Regions from separate parts of the Homo sapiens genome. Here region 2 is linked to region 1. Evidence: promoter capture Hi-C in 16 types of primary human blood cells and fetal thymus (Javierre and others, 2016). All regions are on one chromosome and are shown on one strand. Each heading gives the region's core, a stretch centred on a gene start or on the middle of the fragment in contact. The rest is flanking DNA. Distances are from core to core; before and after follow the strand shown. Region 1 holds the start of VPS53 (VPS53 subunit of GARP complex). Region 2 overlaps RFLNB (refilin B).

What was found. The method cuts DNA at HindIII sites, captures the fragments that hold promoters and counts their contacts. A CHiCAGO score of 5 or more calls a contact.
Region 2: a contact is called between a fragment that was not itself captured here and the fragment with the promoter of VPS53 in region 1, in 6 of 17 cell types (M0 macrophages, monocytes, endothelial precursors and 3 more). The highest score is 9.8, in M0 macrophages.

The regions. Positions count from the first base shown.
Region 1 is chr17:710,544-716,088 of GRCh38, reverse strand. VPS53 (VPS53 subunit of GARP complex) reads left to right here and starts at 1,250. Exons shown (of 22, transcript NM_001128159.3): 1 at 1,250-1,466; 2 at 5,476-5,545. The coding sequence starts at 1,380. RefSeq lists an enhancer at 709-778. The HindIII fragment of the contact is 2,341 bases long and covers 779-3,119 here.
Region 2 is chr17:439,130-444,674 of GRCh38, reverse strand. It overlaps RFLNB (refilin B), which reads left to right. Exons shown (of 2, transcript NM_182705.3): 2 at 1,181-4,697. The coding sequence ends at 1,511. Among named protein-coding and RNA genes, the nearest start is that of RFLNB, 4.0 kb to the left of the region's middle. The HindIII fragment of the contact is 3,632 bases long and covers 802-4,433 here.

The DNA of each region.
Region 1 (5,545 bases), core at 1-2,500:
TACTGCTCCTATTTTTTACTTTGAGCAACTCTGATAACAACAACAAAAAAAAGTTCAGTGGGGCCAACGCGTTTCCCTCCTGGAGTTTCCCGGTTCACCTGGTGGAGCGGGTCCTCCTTGGGCTGCAATTCCCTCCTTCTTTTCAGTGTCTGCAGGAAAGGTGGTTTCACAGGGTGATCGGTGATCTGGCTTATTTGTTCCTTTGTGGGGGTAAGGGCTGGGCACCTCACTATTTCCTGTATTACCAGCTTGAATTTACATCGCGCTGTTAATGTTTAATCCTCTCCACATCGACGCGGGGTAGTAATTTGTTCCAAGTCACACAACTTATCAATGGTGGACTATTCAGGACTTAGATCCCGGATATTCAACCTCAGTAAACGTCTCCCCAGCTCCAGGGCGCTGCGTCATCTGGCTTTAAAAAAACGTTTCTGGCCGGGCGCAGTAGCTCACGCCTGTCATCCCAGCACTTTGGGAGGCCGAGGCGGGCGGATCACGAGGTCAAGAGTTCGAGACCAGCCTGGCCAACATGGTGAAACCTCGTCTCCACTAAAAATACAAAAATTAGCTGGGCGTGGTGGCGGGCGCCTGTAATCCCAGCTACTCGGGAGGCTGAGACAGGAGAATCGCTTGAACCCAGCAGGCGGGGTTGCAGTGAGCCGAGATCGCGCCGTTGCACTCCAGCCTGGGCAACAAGTAAGACTCCGTCTCAAAAAAAAAAAAAAAAAAAAAAAAGACGTTTCTCCCCATAAGGAGGCTGCAGTCACCTCGAAAAGCTTCTGCGCAGAGCCCGGCGCACGGGGAATTTCTATCGAGTGGGCACTGTCCCGTCCTACGAATGTCCTTGGCGACATCGCCACTCGCCAGCTGGGATCACGTCGCCCCCGTGGCCGGGGACACCCGCTGCCACTGACCGAGGGGGCCCCGGGAGCTGAGAGGTCGCCGCTGCGCTGCCCGCGGAGGCTGTGGGCTGCGGTTGGCGACGCCGCAGGGCTGACTTTCATCCGGGCGTCCTGCTGGAGGCCAGACCCTACCCCAACCTCGGGGTCCTCAGTGCGGGGCGCGCCTTGGGGAGGGAAGAGGCCCCGCCCATCCTAAGGACGCGCTGAGGCCACGCGGGGCCGCCGGGATACTGCGTTGCCCGGGAGACACCTGACGTGACAGGAACGCCGCCAGTCTCAGTCCGCCGTGATCCCACAGTTCCCCGGTCCCGGAAGTGCCCTGGCCTGCCGGAAGTGCCGGAGCGGCTGACAGAGCGGCTGACGGAGCCGGGCTCACCAGGTCGCTGCCGCGAGGGAGTTGCTGTGCTGGGGCCTGGGTGGCGGCTGGAGGCCTGAGTTGGGCTCGCGGCGGGGGTCGGCAGGGGGCCGGGTGGCGGAATGATGGAGGAGGAGGAACTGGAGTTCGTGGAGGAGCTGGAAGCCGTGCTGCAGCTCACGCCCGAGGTGCAGCTGGCCATCGAGCAGGTAAGCGTTCCGCCCCTCAGGAGGGGAAACGGGAGTGCGGGAGGGGAGACGGCAGCTCCGGGCGCTGGGGAGGCCGCGGCGGGTGGACGGAGGGCCGGGGGCTCGCGGCAGAAGGGAAAGTGGAGGTGGGGAGGTGGTGCGGGTGAGAAGCGGTTTCTGAATCAGAAGGAAAGGAAAGAGAACCCTTTCTAGGCTTTGATTGTCTTTGGCGAGGGCTGGGGGTTCTGGTGGTTTTGGGGAAAGGAATTGTGCGCTTAGAGAGGACGACGCTAGGAGAATGCAGGCCTTGGGTGCCATCCTCAGATTCTGGGGACTGTGGGGGCTTCATGCATTTACCAGACTCGTGCCAACGCCCCGGTTTTGCAAGCTGGCACCTCGTGAGTGGCTTGGAACTGGGGGAAGGGAATGACTTTAATTTCTGAAGCGGACGGCAGAGAAGAGAGAAAGTGTTGAAAAATGACATCGTTACCATTCTTAAAAGGTTGAGAATTCCTACCGTTGAATAGTTTGGGTGAGGTTGGAGAATACTCCCAAGGGGCCTCTTTTCCCTTCAGGAACTTTTTTTTTTTTTTTTTTTTGAGACGGATTCTCGCTCTGTCGCCCGGGCTGGAGTGCAACGGCACGATCTCGGCTCACTGCGACCTCCGCCTCCCGAGTTCAAGCGATTCTCCTGTCTCAGCCTCCTGAGTAGCTGTGATTACAGGCGCACGCCACCACACCCGGCTAATTTTTTTTTTTTTTTGGGGTAAAGACGGGGGTTTCACCGTTTTGGCCAGGATGGTCTCGAACTCCTGAGCTCAAGTAACCCGCCCGCCTTGGCCTCCCAAAGTGCTGGGATTACAGGCGTGAGCCACCACGCGCGGCCCTGCCTGCAGGAACTCTTGCCTTTGCAAGTTTATTGAGTTTTTAAGGCTAATGATATTAGAAATAGTGATTTTTTTCTTTTCTTTTTTTCTTTTTTTTTGTTTTCTGAGACGGAGTCTCGCTCTTTCGCCCAGGTTGGAGTGTAGGGGTGCCATCTCGGCTCACTGCAACCTCCGCTTCCAGGTTCAAGTGATTCTCCTGCCTCAGCCTCCTGAGTAGCTGGGACTACAGGCAACCGCTACCATGCCTAGCTAATTTTTGTATTTTTAGTAGAGACCGGGTTTCACCATGTTGGCCAGGCTGGTCTTGAACTCCTGACCTCAGGCTATCCGCCCGCCTCGGCCTCCCAAAGTGCTGGGATTACAGGTGTGAGCCACTGCACCCGGTCAGAAATAGTGATTTCTAATACTGCAGGGTATTGCTCCTGATAAACGGAGAAAATCTCCCTTAAAGGAATTGTCATGAAGTTATATGATTTAAGAAAGGGATTTATGATTGAGGAAATGGACAATTCCATTATGCCTTATTTAATGACCCCTGGGAAACTTTTTTTTTTTGAGATAGGGTCTTGCTCTGTTGTCCAGGCTGGAGTACAGTGGCATAATCGTAGCTCACTGCAGCCTCGAACTCCTGGGGCTCAAGTGATAACCCTGCCTCAGCCTCCCGAGTAGCTGGGACTACAGGTGCATTCATTGACGCTTCGATGTGTGTTTTTCCAGTAGTGGTTGGATTACTTATACAACCAACTTTGTCCTAGCCTGAGAACGCCAAACCATTGGGCAGGAAGCTTTTAGTGTTCCGGCCACACGGCTCCACCACTTACCTCCTTTTGCCAGAAAAAGACATAACATTTCTGTTGCTCTTTGGACTAGTGGGCTCTCATGGAAGAAAAGAATAATGCAGTCAGTTACTGTTTGGTTGACAGGTATCAGAAAAGCACATTTTTGCTATTTCTTTTGTTTGTTTCAACAGCTTTTGGGGTACAGGTGGTTTTTGATTACATGGATGAATTACATAGCGGTGAATTCTGACATTTTTCCTATTTTGTAAGAATAAGTTTGAGTGATAGTATAGCAGACATCTTTATGTCAAGCAGAATTCAGACATCATTATGTCAAGATGAATTCAGAATTTTTTCTTACTTTAGCACTCTGAATGAAATTCTGTAGTAGCATACTTGTAAAGAGTAGTGATGTGTGAGGAGTCAGGAAGGGTTGATAAAATGGAATCACATTTTACTCCAAGATGAAGTCCCAGAGTCATTGCATAAGGTGAAAATTGGCTGGGCTCGGTGGCTCACACCTGTAATCCCAGCACTTTGGGAGGCCAGGGCGGGTGGATCACGATGTCAGGAGTTCAAGACCAGCCTGGCCAACATGGTGAAACCCCGTCTCTCCTAAAAATACAAAAATTTAGCTGGGCATGGTGGCAGGTGCCCGTAATCTCAGCTACTCGGGAGGTTGAGGCAAAGAACTGCTTGAACCCGGGAGGCAGAGGTTGCAGTGAGCTGAGATGGTGCCACTGCCTTCCAGCCTGAGCGACAGAGTGAGACTCCATCTCGAAAAAAAAAAAAAAAAAAAAGGCGAAAGTCACTCTAGACATGAAAATCACTCTGCCCTGAAGTTCTTTAAATTGCCCATGAAGGCCGGGTGTGGAGGCTCACGCCTGTAATCCCAGCACTTTGGGAGGCCGAGGCGGGTGGATCACAAGTTCAGGAGATTGAGACCATCCTGGCCAACACGGTGAAACCCCTTCTCTACTAAAAACACAAAAAATAAGCCGGGTATGGTGGCGAGCGCCTGTAGTCCCACCTTCTCAAGAGGCTGAGACAGGAGAATGGCATGAACCTGGGAGGTGGAGCTTGTAGTGAACCAAGATCGCGCTACTGCACTCCAGCCTGGGTGACAGCGCGAGACTCCGTGTCAAAAAAAAAAAAAAAAATTGCCCATGAAGTACCACGTATGCATCTCTGATAAGTCTAGGGCTGTTAGTTTTTTTCCTCCATCATTGGAACCAGTCATTCTTTTTTCAGCTGGCTTTTGTTAGGAGCCTTGTTACATGAAAACAATTTAAAACCTAGGACAGCACTAAAACCTAGGAGTCGTGAGAGGAATACAGAAACTGAGAGCAACTTGAGGAAATAGTTTGTATCTCTTGTATCCTGCTCTCTGTGGGTTATACTTTCCCTCTGGTGAGCACGTATCATTGAGACTGTGTAAATAACCTGTGTATATGTGCATTATGGAAACAGCAATGCTGAACATTTTAAAAAGAAAACATCTTCACTTTCTTCTCATCCACCTCCTCTTGATGTGGTAGAAGGCTTCAGCTTTTCTAACAGTTGTCTTGAAGATATTTTGATTTTTTGACTCTATATTTCTTTGGAAGGCTTCTTCAGAGATGAAGTTGCTTCCCACAGTTGTAACTCTATCAAGCTGGGTGAGACCCAGTGTCCAGTGGATAATTTGGCTGCTTGTATCATCCACCTTGTTGCGTGTTCTTCAGGTTGTTAGGGAGTTAGCTGTATGTCTTAGAGGTGGACTGTTTTTGAGAGAGGATCTCACTCTGTCGCCCAGGCTGGAGTTCAGTGATAGAATCTCGGCTCACTGCAACCTCAACCTCCTGGGCTCTGGTGATCCTCCCATCTCAGCCTCCCACGTAGCTGGGACTATGACAGGCATGTGCCATGGCACCCAGCTAATTTTTTTTTGTAGAGATGTGGTTTCACCATGTTGCCCAGGCCAGTCTCCAACTCCTGAGCTCAAGCGATCCGCGCAGCCTTATTTTAATTAATTAATTAATTAATTTAATTTTGAGACAGAGTCTTGCTCTTTCGCCCAGACTGGAGTGTAGTGGTGTGATCTCGGCTCACTGTAACCTCCGCCTCCCGGGTTCAAGCAATTCTCCTGCCTCAGCCTCCTGAGTAGTTGGGATTACAGGTGTGCGCCAACACCACACCCAGCCAAGTTTTTATTTTTAGTAGAGACCTGACCTCAGGTGATCCATCTGCTTTGGCCTCCCAAAGTGCTGTGATTACAGGCATGAGCCACCGTGCCCGGCCCTTTCCTTTTAATTGACAAATTAAAATTATATATATTTACGGTATACTACATGTTTTTATATATACTCCTCTCTTTCTATATAGGTGTTTCCAAGCCAGGACCCTCTAGATCGAGCAGATTTCAATGCTGTTGAGTATATCAATACCCTGTTCC
Region 2 (5,545 bases), core at 1,368-3,867, 270 kb after region 1:
AAAAAAAAAAAGAAAGAAAAGAAAAGAAAACTGACTCCCAAAATTAAAAGAAGGACTTGAAAAAATTAAATGCCTGAGGAACACAGATGCTAATTTATCTTATGGAAATCAAGATGATAATTGGCTTTCATTGATAAGTCAGATACCCAGATATGTAGGTTTAGGGAGGGTCCCCAAACCAAATGCCAAGGTGAACAAAGTATTAATATTTGGTATAGCCAAACTTTCAGAACCAGCATTCAAGGTTTCTGGGTTCCTTTATCCTCTCATTAAAGAGCTGATAGGGTGGGTGCGGCGGCTCATGCCTGTAATCCCAGCACTCTGGGAGGCTGATGCAGGAGGATTGCTCGAGCCCAGGAGTTTAGGACCAGCCTGGGCGACACAGGAAGTCCTCATCTCTACAAAGAATAAAAGATATGTTGTTTAAAAAAAAAAAACACAAAAAAAGAGGCCAGGTGCAGTGGTTCATGTCTATAATCCCAGCGTTTTGGGAGGCCAAGGCAGGCAGATCACCTGAGGTCGGGAGTTTGAGACCAGCCTGGTCAACATGGTGAAACCCCGTCTCTAGTAGAAATACAAAAATTAGCAGGGCGTGGTGGCGGGCGCCTGTAATCCCAGCTACTCAGGAGGCTGAGGCAGGAGAATCACTTTAACCTGGGAGGCGGAGGTTGCAGTGAGCTGAGATTGCACCACTGCACTCTAGCCTGGGTGACAGAGCGAGACTCCATCTCAAAAAAAAAAAAAAAAAAAGAGGAAACGGAGGCTCGGAAGAGTGAAGTAACTTGGCTGAGGTCTTAAGCTTGTGCGAGTGGGAGCAGGATCCAGGGCTGCTGCCCGCAGTGGCTAACAGTGATGTGGGGCCAGCTTTGGAAGCCTGCACCCCTGTATTTAAATCCCAGCTCCAGTACTCAGTGGCGCTGTGACCTTCACCTCTGCACCTCGGTTTCTTCTCTCAGGGTCGTTGGGGAGATTAAATTGGATCCCGTAAGTAAAGTACTTAGACGACGGGTACCTGGCACATAGTAAGTACTTTATAGACTCTGTGACCCTATGCTGCTTCTCACTGGGGCGGCCACGTTTCTACATGTGCACCCCACAAATGACTCACGGTCACAGTGGGGACCCCAAGCCCCCGGCTCAGAGGAGCGGCTTCACGCGGCCTCTTATGTCTCCCGCCCAGGTACACCTCCTTGGTCAAGTACGACTCCGAGAGGCACTTCATCGACGACGTGCAGCTGCCCCTGGGCCTGGCGGTGGCCTCCTGCAGCCAGACGGTCACCTGTGTCCCCAATGGCACGTGGCGCAACTACAAGGCCGAGGTGCGCTTCGAGCCACGCCACAGGCCCACCCGCTTCCTCAGTACCACCATCGTGTACCCCAAGTACCCCAAGGCCGTCTACACCACCACCCTGGATTACAACTGCCGCAAGACGCTGAGGAGGTTTCTGTCCAGCGTGGAGCTCGAAGCCGCGGAGCTCCCGGGCAGCGACGACCTCTCTGATGAATGCTGACCCAGCAGGCTGGGCTGGGGTCGGACCGGCTCTCCCGCTGTCCTGCCCCCGACTGCCCTGGCCAAGCTGGGCGACCTTACCCTTCACGTCATTCCAGCCCCAGAGGAGTCTAACCTAGAGATACCTCCAAGCGCGGCCGGGGGAAGAGAAAAAAAAGAAAAAATCACTGCATCTCATAATTATTGAGATCTTTGTGTTGTAATTTTCAAGCTGTTTTTAGAGGGAATATATGTCCTGGTTTGCTGCTGTGTTGTTTCCCCAAAGTCTCAATCAGATGAGGCAACAAAAAGACCACCAGAATTGCAGGAAAGCAGCAGCAGTCTGGGATAGGGAGGGGGGAGGAGAGCTCTCCCTCCGTGGTCAGTTTGTCAGAAGAAAAGCATGGAAAAAGTGAGATTTAAGAAATCTCAGCCACGGGTGTCTTCACTGCACAAAAGTGGTGCTAATTCAGTAAACAGTGACACCTGTGTGGGTTCAATCTGTGGAGAGTTGAGTTCCATTCCTTTGTTTTTAAATTTCCACCTCCATTTGTGTTTCCTATTAACCTAAACTCTTGTAATTCTCTAAATCTTTTTTCATGATATAAAAAAAAAAGAAAATCCCAAACCACAATTTAAGATGCCTTTTTTTTTTAAAAAAAAAGGTTCTCCGTGTTGCCACCTGCTCCGGGAAGGCCAGGCCGATGGGCGGCCAGGTTTGGGAGCAGCGGCTTCGGCTCCGATTGCTTCCTGACGGTCAGTTCCAAGCACAGGCTCTGAGAAACGCCTCGAACCCTTGGTATCTGGTGACCGTCTCCGCAGGCTTCCGTGAGTCTCCGATAGGTGTTTTGGGCTTTTGGAATACTTTCAGAATACTTTCCCATTTTTTCATAAGGCAAAACGGAGTGGACGGCCTTTTTTTGAGAGAAACAGCATTCTAAGAGTGTGCTTGGAAAACACACTTTTTGGGAGTCCACGTGGGGAGTGGACACTCAGGACAGGAAGCGGTGGCCCTAAGACCTGCGGCCACCCGGAGGAGGCAGACGCAGGCGATGACCTGGTTCATCATGAGAGGAGCTAGAGTTGACTCAGTCTTAGGATCTCGATGGCGTCAGAATTGCAGAGGGTTTCTGCCAGTGCCTTAGGTCTAATTCAGAAAGCAAGGAAGGCTGGGCACGGTGGCTGGCGCCTGTAGTCTCAGCTACTTGGAAACTGAGGCAGGAGGATCTCTTGAGCCCAAGAATTCGAGACCGGTCTGGCAACATAGTGAGCCTCCATCTCTAAAAAAAAGTGGCAAAGCTGAGGAAATCTGTGCCCCCATCCCCCGACACCAGACAAGCTAAGGTGCATTCAGAGTAGGGAACGATGTCAAAACCTGGCCGCCGTGGTGGCGCGCATTCCTCTCACACCACCGTACGGAGGCAGGTGACAGTCAACTGAAATGTCCCCAAGGACCGTGTGAATTCGGCTGGCGTGGCCCAGCAGCGGGGTGGACCAGGGTGCGGTGGCTTCAGACCTGCCTCCCGCCACCCCGTCCTCCCCTAACCCCTTCTTGGGACCTCCTGCCAATCCCTGTGGTGTTTGAGTAAAGAAAGTGGCTGATGGTTTTACTTTTTTCTTCCAATATTGGAAAGAACAAACTAGATATTCCCCTTGAACACATCCAAATTATTTCCAGTGCCTGAGGGTTACCGAGCACTGTAAGCTCAGCTCGGCTGTAGCTCCGGGTTTCTGCCGATGGCCTCCATCTGCGCCGAAAGCTGAACTGAGCCCCGCGGTGCCCCGGAGCCACAGCAGCAGGTGCAGCGACAATCGCCGTCGTGCGCAGTCGCTGGAGTCCTGGAGAGCCACGCTGTCCTCTGCAGACAACAGCATCAGTCCGCTGTGCCCCAATGCATCGACGCCCTGTGGACGGGGCCTGCAGTCCACCCGTGGTCTGAGCTTGCCGGGCTGAAGCTCGGCTGGGACCCAGGGAGGGGCCACCCTGGGACCCACAGTCTCCTCAGTCACGTGCAGAGCAAAAAATGCTTCCTGTGTTTGGAAGAGCAAGTGACGCAGCATTTATTGATAAAAATGGATTTTTCTGTCTGATTTCATGCTGTGGTCGTTTAAGTGGTCAATGTCTTTTTTTTTTTTTTTTTTGACATGGAGTCTCGCTCTGTTGCCCAGGCTGAGTGGAATGGCGCCAACTCAGCTCACTGCAACCTTCACCTCCCAGGCTCAAGCGACTCTCCTGCCTCAGCCTCCTGAGCAGCTGGGATTACAGGTGCCCACCACCACGCCCAGCTAATTTTTGTATTTTTAGTAGAGACGGGGTTTCACCATGTTGGCCAGGCTGGTCTCGAACACCTGACCTTGTGATCCACCCGCCTCGGCCTCCCAATAATTTGTAAGTTATGTTAGCGGGATCCTCAAGGCCTTGCTTTGCCCCGTGGAGACGCTTGCTCGGATGAGCTCAGGAAACAGTACCGGCTGCGTGGCAGGTCTGGGTGTTGTGTGCGAGGACGTGGCCTTTGAACACCGCTGTGTTCTCAGAGGTCCTTAGGAGATATTTTTTTTTGTCTTAGGGGGACTGTGTTAAGTTCAGACAAATCATGCTGGGTGTGTAGAGAGTGTGAAATACGTCAGTGAAGTAAGTAGCAGTGAGCGATTGTGAATGTGTAATGTAAATGGAAAACCGGGTTTTACCGTGTTAAGTTATTCACTAGGGAGCCAGTCGTAGTTCTTTGTAATCCTCTTTCTTCCAAACCTGCTTTGCTGAAAGTTGCAGAAAAGGAAGTGTGTGGAGAGAAACAGAACCCTTCAGGGTGGGTCAGAGGACGCCATCCACAGTGGATTCGTGTTCGTTTGCAGGTGGAAGCAGTGATTTTTAGGACCCACTGATTAAAAACAAACATTCCCAAGTGTCTCTGAGAGATGCTGTTTATTTGTTAATTAAAAAGCTTTTTTCTCTGTCTTTTAAATTATGGCTTTCATGTAATAAGGATATTTTTAGTGAAAAATTGTTTTCCTTTCAAATTACAGACCTTTTAAAAAAACTTAATTTGAGCGAGTACCTTTTCATTTGACACTTTTCCTGTTTCTAACCTTAGGAAACCAGAATAGCGTTTGGCAGACACGACGTTTTCAGTTTACCTTTGACACCTGCCCCACTCCATTTTGCTTTGTGATGTCTTCATTTAACAATAAATTATCTGAAAAAACAAAACTTAGAGAGATGCTTCTGTTTTTAAAGTAGAATTATGTTTGTTTACGCAAAATGAGAAAAACAGCTCCTCATCTTGAGAAATTTTAAGACGTGATTATATTTAACAGTATTAATCTACAAGTACAAGATTTTCCGAGTGTGGCTGGGCATGGTGGCTCACACCTATAATCCCAGCGCTTCACAAGGCCAAGGCTGGAGGATCACTTGAGGCCAGGAGTTCGAGATCAGCCTTGGCAATGCAGTGTGACCCCATCTCTACAAAAATTAAAAATTAAAAAAGAAAGGGGCCAGGCGCCGTAGCTCCCTCCTGTAATCCCAGCACTTTGGGAGGCTGAGGCGGGCGGATCACCTGAGGTCAGGAGTCCGAGACCAACCTGACCAACCTGGTGAAACCCCGTCTCTACTAAAAATACCAAAATTAGCCAGGTATGGTGGGGCACACCTGTAATCCCAGCTACTTGGGAGGTTGAGGCAGGAGAATCACTTGAACCCGGGAGGCGGAGGTTGCAGTGAGCTGAGATCACGCCATTGCACTCCAGCCTGGGTGATGGAGCGAGACTCCATCTCAAAAAATAAATAAATAAAAATAAATAATTTCTGTAGCTTGCTTCAGGGGAGAAAAGGGTGAGGGAAGATCAGAGAGCCCTTCGCTTCTGCCGTTTTCTCAGTTTCCTTGAGCTTAAAATACACAGCAAGCGAAAGTACCGTATTTTGGGGCAGCATTTCCTGCACGCCATCCGTCCCTTTGGGCAAAGCAAAGAGAGAGTCAACAAGAAATATTGAAAATGGATGGAGGCCCTGTATTTCATTCAAGCATCCAATTCACGGCAAGGCTGTGTGTGTATTTG